4 separate regions of the Homo sapiens genome follow, and all the other regions are linked to region 1. The links are contacts of gene promoters, found by promoter capture Hi-C in blood cells and fetal thymus (Javierre and others, 2016). All regions are on one chromosome and are shown on one strand. Each heading gives the region's core, a stretch centred on a gene start or on the middle of the fragment in contact. The rest is flanking DNA. Distances are from core to core; before and after follow the strand shown.

The links. The method cuts DNA at HindIII sites, captures the fragments that hold promoters and counts their contacts. A CHiCAGO score of 5 or more calls a contact.
Region 2: a fragment that was not itself captured here is called in contact with the fragment with the promoter of PIK3R4 in region 1 in 1 of 17 cell types (erythroblasts); the score reaches 6.2 in erythroblasts.
Region 3: a fragment that was not itself captured here is called in contact with the fragment with the promoter of PIK3R4 in region 1 in 1 of 17 cell types (M1 macrophages); the score reaches 6.3 in M1 macrophages.
Region 4: a fragment that was not itself captured here is called in contact with the fragment with the promoter of PIK3R4 in region 1 in 3 of 17 cell types (erythroblasts, M1 macrophages and megakaryocytes); the score reaches 5.6 in erythroblasts.

What each region holds. Positions count from the first base shown.
Region 1 is chr3:130,745,209-130,748,245 of GRCh38, reverse strand. PIK3R4 (phosphoinositide-3-kinase regulatory subunit 4) reads left to right here and starts at 1,417. Exons shown (of 20, transcript NM_014602.3): 1 at 1,417-1,928; 2 at 2,982-3,037. The coding sequence starts at 3,028. RefSeq lists a silencer at 393-442 and an enhancer at 1,677-1,736. The HindIII fragment of the contact is 4,673 bases long and covers 1-2,515 here.
Region 2 is chr3:130,991,732-130,994,768 of GRCh38, reverse strand. It overlaps ATP2C1 (ATPase secretory pathway Ca2+ transporting 1), which reads right to left. Exons shown (of 28, transcript NM_001378687.1): 21 at 1,768-1,818; 22 at 671-837. Among named protein-coding and RNA genes, the nearest start is that of ASTE1, 34 kb to the left of the region's middle. The HindIII fragment of the contact is 936 bases long and covers 1,012-1,947 here.
Region 3 is chr3:130,966,648-130,969,684 of GRCh38, reverse strand. It overlaps ATP2C1 (ATPase secretory pathway Ca2+ transporting 1), which reads right to left. Exons shown (of 28, transcript NM_001378687.1): 15 at 2,445-2,540; 16 at 2,266-2,355; 17 at 289-393. Among named protein-coding and RNA genes, the nearest start is that of ASTE1, 59 kb to the left of the region's middle. The HindIII fragment of the contact is 2,803 bases long and covers 22-2,824 here.
Region 4 is chr3:130,937,431-130,940,467 of GRCh38, reverse strand. It overlaps ATP2C1 (ATPase secretory pathway Ca2+ transporting 1), which reads right to left. Exons shown (of 28, transcript NM_001378687.1): 6 at 3,005-3,037. Among named protein-coding and RNA genes, the nearest start is that of ATP2C1, 45 kb to the right of the region's middle. The HindIII fragment of the contact is 2,860 bases long and covers 1-2,843 here.

The DNA of each region.
Region 1 (3,037 bases), core at 168-2,667:
GGGAGAACAGGGAGTGACTCCGAATGGTTTCAGGGTTTCCTTTTGGGGTAATGAAAATGTTTAAAATCAGGCAGGCTGGGCGCGGTGGCTCATACCTGTAATCCCAGCACTTTGGGAGGTCGAGGCGGCGGATCACTTGAGGTCAGGAGATCCAGACCATCCTGGCCAACATGGTGAAACCCCATCTCTACAAACAATACAAAAACTAGCGGCCGGGCGCGGTGGCTCACGCCTGTAATCCCAGCACTTTGAGAGGCCGGGTGGATCACGAGGTCAGGAGATCGAGACCACGGCGAAACCCCGTCTCTACTAAAAAAAAAATACAAAAAATTAGCCCGGCGCGGTGGCGGGCGCCTATAGTCCTAGCTACTCGGGAGGCTGAGGCAGAAGAATGGCGTGAACCCGGGAGGCGGAGCTTGCAGTGAGCCGAGATCGCGCCACTGCACTCCAGCCTGGGCGACAAGAGCGAGACTCCGTCTCAAAAAAAAAAAAAACAAAAACCTAGCTGGGCGTGGTGGCACGTGCCTGTGGTCCCAGCTACTCTGGAGGCAGAGGCATGAGAATCGCTTGAACCCGGGAGGTGGAGTTTGCAGTAAGCCGAGATGGCACCACTGCATTCCAGCCTGGGTGACAGAGCCAGACTGTCTCCAAAAGAAAAAAAAAAAGGCCGGGCGCGGCGGCTCACGCCTGTAATCCCAACACTTTGGGAGGCTGAGGCAGGCGGATCACGAGGTCAGGAGATCGAGACCAACCTGGCTAACACGGTGAAACCCCGCCTCTACTAAAAATACAAAAAAATTAGCCGGGCGTGGTGGCGGGCGCCTGTAGTCTCAGCTACTCGGGAGGCTGAGGCAGGAGAATCGCTTGAACCCGGGAGGTGGAGGTTGCAGTAAGCCGAGATCGCTCCACTGCACTCCAGCCTGGGCGACAGAACGAGACTCAGCCTCAAAAAAAAAAAAAAAAAAAAAAAAAAAAAAAAAAAAAAAAAAAAAAATTAAAATCAGATTATAGGGATGATTGCACAACTCGATAGATGTATTAAAAACTACTGCTTTGTACATTTTAAGCAGGTGAACTTTATGGTATGTAAGTTATATCTCACCAGAACTCTAAAAATCCAGCTTGGGATATATTAGTTTTCCTAAATATTCTTGAGTTCTCTTAACTCTGTTCTGCTGTCCTGGGAGTGAAGGCGTGTCTGAGCAGATTCTAGGGGATGTCAGAAACCTCAGCGTTCGTGAATGAAAGGTAGAAGAGCAGGAAGGGGAATAGATCTTTGTCAGAGCATCATTTTCTCCCTGTAGACTCGCCCAAAGTAAGACCACGCCTTCCCTAGTTTCCTAGCAACCGGTTTCCTACCCTGGCAATTCCTCAAGGCTCACTCTTTTTCGTCACTTCCGCTCGGCGACAGGAAGTGAGGTCAGACCGGTTGCTTTCCCGGGAGTTCGGCGTTTGCTGGGGCTGCAGCAGCTGAAGTGTAGTGTTTTCTTGGGACTGGCGGTCTGCACTTCTCTCCCGGGTTCCATCTCCCCCCGCCCGGTGGTGAGGCCCTCGAGGAGGGCTCGGACGGGTGTAGCGATCCGCGCTAGAGGAAGACGAGGCCCGGGAACGCATGTCCCCCAGGGCAGGTTAGGGGGCTGGAGGGGTCAAATCCCGGGGTACTTGTGGAGACTCTTTAGCGTGGCTTCTTCTCTCTGCTGAGACCCCGAGAGCTTTCCCAGTTCTCCTCCCAGGACCACCGGGGTTCCTGAAGATCGGGACTTTTCTGCGCCCCTCCACCAACAGCCCATCTCCTGTCTATGAAGAAAGACCCTTCGTAGAAACAACTTCCCCGCTGCTGACGCGTTTTCCCGTCCCGTCCCCGAAGTAGTCTACTATGACCTCGTTGTGAGCCTCTGAACGATTTTGACACTTTCCCGAGGCCTAGGGTAAATGTTTATGTGTGCTCAAGGTCGTGTGTGTATATGTGTGGCATTTATTTCCTGCAAAACCTGAGTTAGCAGAACCCTGGGGTACGTTTAGCTAGTGTATACTTTGGTCTGCTTTTCTTTAACATCTGTGGCAAGGTTTCTTGTTGCAGACCAGCGAAGTTTGCACCTTCTTTTAGCTGGGTGAGAGGGCACACTGGAATTAGGCAGGAAGTGTCCAGGAGTTAACTGAATTTTTAGATCTTAGTTTGACCTTTTCAGTTTTCAGTTTTTCTTTTTTTTTTTTTATTTTTTGAGACGGACGGAGTCTCGCTCTGTCACCCAGGCTGGAGTGCGGTGGCGGGATCTCCACTCACTGCAACCTCTGCGTCCTGGGTTCAAGCAATTCTGCGTCAGCCTCACGAGTAGCTGGGATTACAGGCACCCACTACCACGCCCGGCTAATTTTTGTATTTTTAGTAGAGACGGGATTTTAACCATGTTGGCCAGCCCCGTCTTGAGCTCCTGACCTCGTGATCCTCCCGCCTCGGCCTCCCGAAGTGCTGGGATTACAGGCGTGAGCCACCGCGCCCGGCCAGTTTTAAGCTTTTAATGTGTCTCTTTCTTATTTCCAAGAAACTACAGATTCTTGGACAAGAACTATGTCATATGGTAACTTTGTAATTCTCATAGCCCCAAGCACAGCACGGAACACATAGTAAAGGCTCATTAATATTTTAAATTTAAATATGAGAAAATAACACAAACTAACATTTTTGGCTTAAAGTTGAAGAGGCCTATCTAAATATAGTTCAGCTCCTGGAAATGGCGATGCGCAATAGCAGGGTATTTTTAGGTAAAATAACAAGGTCTTCTTGGAGAAAATAACATGGTCTTTTTAGATAAATGTGTGTGAAATTTAGAGGCTGCCCCAGAAGGCTAGGTACAGTGCTGTTAGTGGAAGAGAAGTATGCTGCATCTGTCTTTTTGGAAGAGACCAAATAATGGAATAATGGTGTTTCACAGCTTCTTTGTTTCTTGTCTTTTTTCTTCATTTGTTTTTATTTTAAACAGGTATTATATCCTAACCTTACTAAAGACCACAGAGGTGCTTGCCATTATGGGAAATC
Region 2 (3,037 bases), core at 230-2,729, 250 kb before region 1:
AATGTTTCCCTGTAGGCCAAAACAGAGTAATAAAGCAGCCTGGAACATATAATTGGAATTTATCACTAAACTCAGGTCATCCAACAGGTAGCTACCAAAAAAATAAATAAATAAATAAATGGGATTCACATGATCCCCACCTGAACACTGTGAAACTGACACCACCATGTATTACACTGGAGTCTTAAATCAACTGGAAACTGTGGCTGACACAAATAGAGCTATTTAAATTTAATAAATTATAACATTAAATGAGGGCAAGATGAATAAATTACTGATATAAAAAACAGGTATGGATGTAAACTTCATAATTTTCAATATTTATTATAAAGCCAAAAAAAGAGCCATACATATGCATATTTCTAACTACCTGAATTTAACTAAAATAAAGGCCATTACTATACCATCATATTAGTGCCCAGAAAAAGGTGAAATGTGGCTGGCACTTGGCAAATACTTCTTAAATGAGGGTCCTGCCATTTACTATGCCTGTTCCAGCCACACAAATCATCTTCTTCATACCATAAAATAGGATAATTACCCTAGAAAAGTGGTTTAGTTTACCTAATGTTTAAATACTAATTCTTTTCCAGTTGAATTCTCTAGGGGTGGGGGACAGGAAAGGATAGGGGAAGATTCTCTGATAGGCATTCACTGAAACAAAGCTTACATTATGGTTTGAAAATCATCATCCACTAGGATCATGTCTGCTGCCTCTTTGCAAACATCTGTACCAGTCTGGCCCATCGCAACTCCAATGTCTGCAGCCTTCAGAGCAACTGCATCATTTACTCCATCTCCTGTCATGGCTACAACTGAACCGTTCTTCTGTAGCGACTAGAGTGGAGCAGAGGACAGGGGAGAGGAAGGAATTTTGATAAAAATGTTGCTTCCATACAAAGCGATAAACAAATCCTCCCTATTTTTTTCACATAATTAAGATTAGAAATAATATAGACCACCCATTGTTCAATGAACTTCAACAAATGGAGATCTCAGTAAGATAAAGCTTAGAAAAAGTTGCTACTAATATTCCCATCTGTGAGAACTGTATCTCTAAATTCTGTTCTTCAAACAACTATACAATGATTCTCAACCAGGGGCAATTGTGTCTCCCAAGGGACATCTGACAATGTGTGGAGATGTTTTGGACTATCAGGATTTGGGGGATGTTACTGGCACCTAGTGGGAAGGGGCCAAGAATGCTGCTAAACATTCAATAACATATGGGGCAGCCCTTCACAACAAGGAATTATCCAGTCCAAAATGTCAATGGTGCCAAGGTTGAGAAACTCTGAACTACACAATGGCTGGCTATCATAACTTAAGACCATTAACTACTGGATACTCTATCAGTTGGTTTAAATACATTTGACTAATTAATATAAATAATCATAGCCTTTTAAGCACTGTTCACACTGTCACAACACTATTTCCTTGCTGTATTTATTTAGTTTCTAACTAATTACTGCTATTTACGCTGGGATGACTCGGCTATGGACCCCAGTTAGAACATTGTTTTATACTGTCTAACTGTTTAAAGAAGGCTGTATTTGCAGATACTTCATTCAAGTTTTCTTCTACATCTTATGCCAACTAAATTCTCTATTAGTGTTTCTATGTCAAGCTCTTACAAAAAAAAAAAACTGTTTTGCTTCACAGTATTTCTGACCTTGATGCTCTACTCCCTGTAATGCAAACATAACAAAAGTAAAGTAGCAGCATTTTGTATACAGAAATAAAACAATCTGATTCTTACACACTCACCTTAATAATTTTCATCTTGTGCCTTGGGCTAGCTCTGTAAAATACTGCAACCTGTTAAAATACAAGATACACTAAAAATCTTCAATATTAAGATTTCTACAGAATAACCCATGCATTCATAACTAATGATGAAAAACTCATCAATTTAAGCTGTATTTAATTTGCCACTGAGATCAAGCTTAAGCAATATGACATATGTTTGTTAAGACATTAATCTGACATGGTCATTTCAATCTTTACCAAAGGTACCACAGGAAATACACAATCTAAACAAGTCATCCAATTTATATCATTATGTGTAAACTCTGGAAAGAAAACAGCCTTATTCTTGAAATGTTCCAGAGACAAAAAAAGGAAAAATTCTCTTGCGTCTGTTTCCTATGACACTCGCATACAACTAAAATAGCCTTTTCCCTTTGTTCTGTCTTCAGGAGCAATAAAGAACAGCTGCTTCTCAGTGTCTGTAGAGCCATTTTTTACAGTGTCAAGTGTCTGCTCATTCCCTTTTACTCAGGTTAACTCATTAGCCTCTCTTCCACTGTACTTCTAAATTGCTTATATGATTTTTATCTCTCCAAAATAAATATTTAATCCTTTTTTCTGACCCCATCTCCTGATCTAAAATCGTTTCACTGTGTTCCAACAAATCTCCTCTATTTTTTACTCTTTTTCACTTTGCTCTAACCTAGTGTTTCCACAAAACACTACCATCCCTATAACCTCCTCAAATAGTACTTTGCTCTAACCTAGTGTTTCCACAAAACACTACCATCCCTATAACCTCCTCAAATAGTACCACTGGGGGAGCCTACAGGTGGAACACGGTATCCGCTATTCTCCCTTCATAAAACCTCAGTTCTGAATGTCAGATGAGACTGTAACTCACTAACTGTAAGCATTCACTGCTCCGGAGTTCACAGCCCCTCATTTCACAATGATTTTAACTTCTGCCTCACTACCATGTCACTCTCTCCAACAATATTTACAAGTTATGGTGATTTCAATATACATAATACACCATTCTCTTTCCTATTCTCCTAGAGGATTAGTTCATATTAGTTTTCTCTCCTCGTACCTGCAATCTATCCCCTTTCTCTAGCCTCCTTCTCAGCCGACCACCTTGCTTCCTACTTTGGAGAAATCAGAATCAGAAGAGAATTTCCACAATTCCCCCAACTCAGTATCTGTATCCAGGAACTAACCTCTGGTTTTACTACAGATGAACTCAATATGCATCTACTGCAGGTCAAAGATTCTACCTTCTTACCTA
Region 3 (3,037 bases), core at 174-2,673, 220 kb before region 1:
AAAAATCTGATGTCACAAGCTTCAGGAGACTGAGACTAGGCTACAACTCATTTAAGCTGTTTGCTCACACAGCAGCAACTCCATGAATATATCTATGCATGGATTCTATAAGGAAAGACTATCAAAGAGAACACAAACAATTAAGAGATGAGTGTACTATTAATTACATGTACTTTAAAGCAACAAGTCTTTATTATGTACAATGACTAAACCCAAAGGTGGACAGTAAATGAAAAAATAGTCATCTAAGCTAAACAGGAAATAAGTATTCTTTAAACAGATGGATACCTGCTGTGTTCGGTGTACACACTTAACAGCCATCCACTTTTGCTCAGAGCTAAAAGGGTATTCAGCTTTTCTGATGTAGTCTTGTTGAAGTCCATCAAGACCCATCTATATGGCACAAAGAGAAAGTTAATTCTCACCTATATGTGATTATTTTTTCCTTTAACAAAGAACAAGGGTCACCACTTGTAACTAGGTTGGCTGGATTATTTTTCAGTTAATAGTGAAATAGTAAATGCTCCATCTATATATACTGTACTTCCCTACACATCAGCATACATTTTCAACATGAAAGCCCAGGTATGTAGATATAGTCTAAGGCAGGTTTTCTGGATTGTACGCTGACTAAACCTCCCATACACACTGTATTAATCCCTCTACCCACTCAAATTCTGAAAGGAAGCAGGATATAAATAAATAAAAGTACCCAACCAATTCTGAGCATGTATTTTTATGATCAATAGAAGTTTTAGATTAAATCTCTCACTTCTTAGGGACTCAAATGGCTCACCTGTTATCATCCTAGTCCCTTACCCTCTGCCACTTTATATCCTGAATACTACCAGTCATGTTGTTGTTTTCCCTCCTAATAGCGTTTGCATCAATATCAAATATCTAAATATCAAAAATATCAAAAAATATCTTCCAAATATCAAAAATGTTTAAACTACTCAAAATTCTACCATGTATTGCTTTCTACTTTCTACTGAAACATGTTCAGGCTCTTCTTGGCCTTAAAGGTTCTCCAGAAACCCACCACATACAGCGTCTATAAAAATCCTCCTGGTCGTGCAAATACGTTTCATTTCATCCAGTTTGGCCAACTCATTAGCCACAACCAACTCTATGCTCTTTTATTCCTCTCTACTTCTACTTTAGTTCATTCCCTAGCTTATCTCATCTAAACCCTTCCTATCCTTCAAAGCCCTCATATCCCAGCTCTGAATTTGCATTGTTCTTATCTTATATGTGACTCAGTGTTTAAGATTTCAGTGTCTGCTGTCTTGGACTGCCTTTTGTCTCAAGAATGTCAATATAAATTCCCTACCTAAAATGTGAGGTCTCTGCCCATAAAAAGATAGTTTCATATTCTTTATCCCTCAAAGAAACTAATATCTTTATAAGCATAACACAGGAAATACTTGATAACGGATTCATGTTTTGAGTACTATGCTGTTTTAGTTGTAAGGAGACCAAATGATACAGAAATGTGCTTTTCTGCCAAGGAAACTATATATTCTAAAACTATCAATTTTATTTCATTAAATATGTTATAATAACCTGTAATTCTGTACTGTCTCTCATTTCAAGCAACCTCATTTAGAAGCCTCTTGCTTTATACAAGTATCAAAATTTTCTCTGAATACTCTTAAAGGTAGGAATAGTTATTTTTGTTATGAGTGACAGGCTGGACTTACTAGGTTTCTCACTGAATCAAATATAGGACTTAGGGGATAAGGAGACGGATTGGGACAGATGAAAAGTTAACTGAGACTTCTTCTCCCCAAAACAAATTATAACTTCACAATCATTTTGAGAAATTAACAAAGGAGAGAAAGGAAAGACTGGGAAAACAAAGCTATTTTCTCATGACTGTGTTATTATCTTTACATAGAAATACTAAAGAATGTTGCCTTTTATTCATTCAAAAGTTAGTATTTATCAGCAATTACACACATTTATAAAGTATTTCACATGTAGATCTCAACATTGTGGAAGACAGGAACATTTCTTCACAAGAAATCAATGACTGCTCATTAGTTTGTAACTTGCATGTGAACAATAAAGTTATACTGAAAAAAGTCTATACTTTACATTTATAGGAATAAAACTGATACCTAAAAGATAGTAAAAACAATGAAATAGTATGAGTTTTTTTCACTCAATACCTAAAAACCAGTAATACTGAAATTGATGACACTGCATTCTGTTGTGAGGGCAGTGTCTCAAATGTCAAAGAAGAGAAATTTAGGTACGTACCTTCATTGCAAGAGCAATTAAGGCCCCTTCTGTTGGCTTCCCCATTAGAGTATTGTTTCTAATTACAGCATCATTGCACACACAGCCCGCCTAAGAAAAATACACATAAACTATGAACCTATCACTGTGTCTTAAGTTATTATGAAGAAAGTCACCATCTTGGAAAAAAAAATATTTACCTCAACAATTCTGCTAACAGCTGGGTTATAGAATCCATGAACAACATCACCATCAACAATCACTTCCCCAAATTGATTATAGCCAACTCCAGTAACCTAAAGATCACAAAGTGGGATCAATAATACAAACACTACAAACACTTGGTGGTGACAAGACCTATAAAACCCAAAAACTATAATGAGTTCTGTTCATTTTATTTATAATGACACTGTTAAAAGTGTTCACCTAGAAAAGCATTAAAATTTGTCTTTAAAAAGGACATTTAGTAAAGAAATATAGATTCTAATTCTCATCACAATTATTAATCTAAAAAGACATTGTTTTCTAATTACAATATACTGTTAAAAGAATAAGCTATGAAAATATACATAAGTAAGCTTAAACTTATATGACATTACACTTATATAGCATACTACAGTTTGCAAAGAACTCAAATGCATTACCATATGTAACATACAACACAAAGCTGTGACTTAGACAAAAGCAGTATTCTTTTTGCAAACATGCAGGCCTGGAGACATTGAGATATATGCTAGCACTTACAAATCACTTTAACACAGCATATTACACACCAATTTTAAAAATCAGAGGT
Region 4 (3,037 bases), core at 164-2,663, 190 kb before region 1:
TGTTAAATGTAGAGATCAATTTTGATAATTAAATATTCCCAGTTTTACATTTTAATATTCAATGTACAAACCTAAGGTTATTTAGAATAAAAATGAAAACTGACTAGTATGTCCAAAGAGTACATAATTTGAGTCATTAAAAGTTTTAAGTCATTGAGCCTTAAAATTTAGATAATCTTATGTTAAGTGTCTAATGACCACAGAAGTCAAAGATAATTAACCGTAAACAACATCTGCTTTAGGAATTTAAGCCCATGCTAACAGCAATGGTTTACAAAGTAAACCATTAGAACAAACATGGGATAAACAAGGAGTAAGATGTGGCTGGCTCTATACTGACAGACCCAGTTCCCATCAACCTGTGTATCCAAAAAGGAAAATTCTCAGGAGTTCTAACAATGTGATTTCTAGCCTTCTTCCATCCAGATAACAAATAGCTGAGGGTCAGTCAGAAACATCCTTCAACTCACAATACTACTTAGTCCACATTTCCATGAGCAGTCTTGCATCACACATCACTGCTATTTTTGCCTCATGTCTGTAGTAAGCAAAAGAATCTTCTAATCTAAGGTCAAAAGAGGGAGAGGCAAATAGTGGAGGTAGAAGGGTTGGGAATGTTTTGAAATGACTGCAGTGCTAGTACTAGTCAAAATGTCCTATCCATCACAAACTTCAAATAGAAAACACAAGGCTATGTAAGAATAACTTAGAACACAATCAGTCTCTACTTAATCTTAGAGTGACAAATATAAGGAAAATCTACAAATGTAAAAATCATAAGACAACACCCCAAACACATGAAGGATATTAAGGAATTTGGAAGTTTACCCAAAAATTCTGTAATATGCTAGAAAATACCCATCAATCCTAGATCCCAGTAATAAATGACATAGATGCTGCCCAATCTTTACTTATGTCTTCTGGTTTCTTAGCCTCTACTCCCTACAATTATAAAGATACCTCTATATCAAAATGATCATTAAACATACCACCTAAAACCTAATAAATGCCTAAAAGTCATTTTTCAAATTTATTGTAAGGTGACTTCATTACGACTATATAAAACAATTAGCTATTTTTATGGCTGGGAAGAAGTACAGTGGTGTGGGGAATGGGGATTGCAAAGACACACGGAAAAAAGGCAGGACATAAATATAAAAAGGAATATAAAAAGCCCTCTTAAGACACAAGTAATATAGCACAAATAACAAATAATGATAAAGTATTAAGAATTTTTTATACATTTTTGATAAAGAGCTTTTTGATTAAAGCATTATGATAAGTTCAACTGACAGTAAATAGGATCTTTTTGGAGAGGATTTTTACTTGTTTATAGACTATTTTGTTGGTTTCACAGGCATATTTGGTGATGGGTCACATGTGTGTAAGAATCAGACCTAGCAATTTGAAACTAGGCTTTTTATAAAGTTTTCATCCTTTTGTGAGATTTCTATCAAATGTACCTATCATAAACATATTTAATAGTCTCAGCCATAGCATTTAATGTGTATAACAACACTATCTTGTGTAAAATTCCATATTGACTTATGTTAAAATCACAATTTTGTGGTGTTTTTTGAAAACATGGGCTTTCTAGTGATCAAAGAGAACAAGGTACTAAGGTCTTCCATACATAGTGATACTATTTGCAGGAATCCTTCTGAAGTAGGGCACTCCACATATCTGACACATTCTTAAAGACGCAAGAAGGTCCAGTTAGTGGTCCAGTGGGTCATATCACTCACTTGGCTGAATGAATAGCTGCCTTGAATAATGGTTAGCCTGACATGACCTATGCTAGACTAACCAGCTCCACCTGACCATGGGCAACATTTGTCTAAGCAAGAAGATTCCCCTAAAAGCGGAACCCTGATAGTCTACTAATGGAGCTCACAAACCTACTGCAAATGATCTGATTCCAACTGGCTTTCTACACTGGGTTACTACAGAACTAATAACAACTAGGTTAGAGATTACCTTAAGAGGCTGGGATAGTGACAAGAAATACCCACGTAATAAATCGTAGATGTAAGAACAACCATAGTTATTCAAAGTATAGGCTTCAGATTCAAAACAGCACGAACTTCAGGCTTATGCAACAATATTACATTTTTCTCTAAGCTAGAATAATTCTATTCTTGTTAACCATGTTCTAGCTAAAAAGGAAATCTGCTGATATTGTGAAACACTGTTCTAAAATCTACAGAAGTTTCAGATATTTAAATAAACATAAAACTAAGCCTACATTTTTATTTGTCTGTACTTATTAATAGAAATCTTGACAGTATCTCCACATTATTCATAGTAATTTTTAAAAGGGGCTACTTTACATATGTTTTATTTACTGTTTGAATTACTTTGATTCAGATCACAACACCCCTTTTGTGGAGGAATGAGAAATTGTTTTAAAGGGAGGGGAGAGGAGGTCATGCCAACAATGAGTAGAACCATTTTAATTCCTCAAAACAGACTCAAATAAAATAAGGTTAAGTGATAAATTCAGCAAACAAGTGTAGCATTTGGCTAAGGGAATCAGTCACAGAAACCTGTGGAATTTTCTTCAAATGGTACATCACAGATCGACCTTTTAATTCTATACTTTTTTGTTTCATCTAGACTTAGCTCTAGTAGGCATTAAAACATAACAGTGTTATGAAACTATAAACTCTGGTCCAATTTTTTAATTGAAAAAATAAAAAAGTTTACTGCTGGATTTTATTTCTATTACTATGCTTTTTGTTTCCATCTGCTTCAGTTATCCTTAACATTATCAAATAAAAAACTAGATTTTCTTCATCTCACTACCTAAATCAAAGCAGTTCCTTAGTCCCACACCACAAGCTTCCCTGAAGAGTTGTCTGTATCTGAAATTACTTGAAAAACAAAGAATAAGTTGTTCTGATGGGCATTACAACCCCCCAATAACGGTAGGTTCTACCACAAGACACCTTGATTTTTAAGCAATTAACATACCATTTTCATGTTGGCAAAATAGAGTACTTACCTGAACAAAGGCAACTGTAACAACGATAAGTAT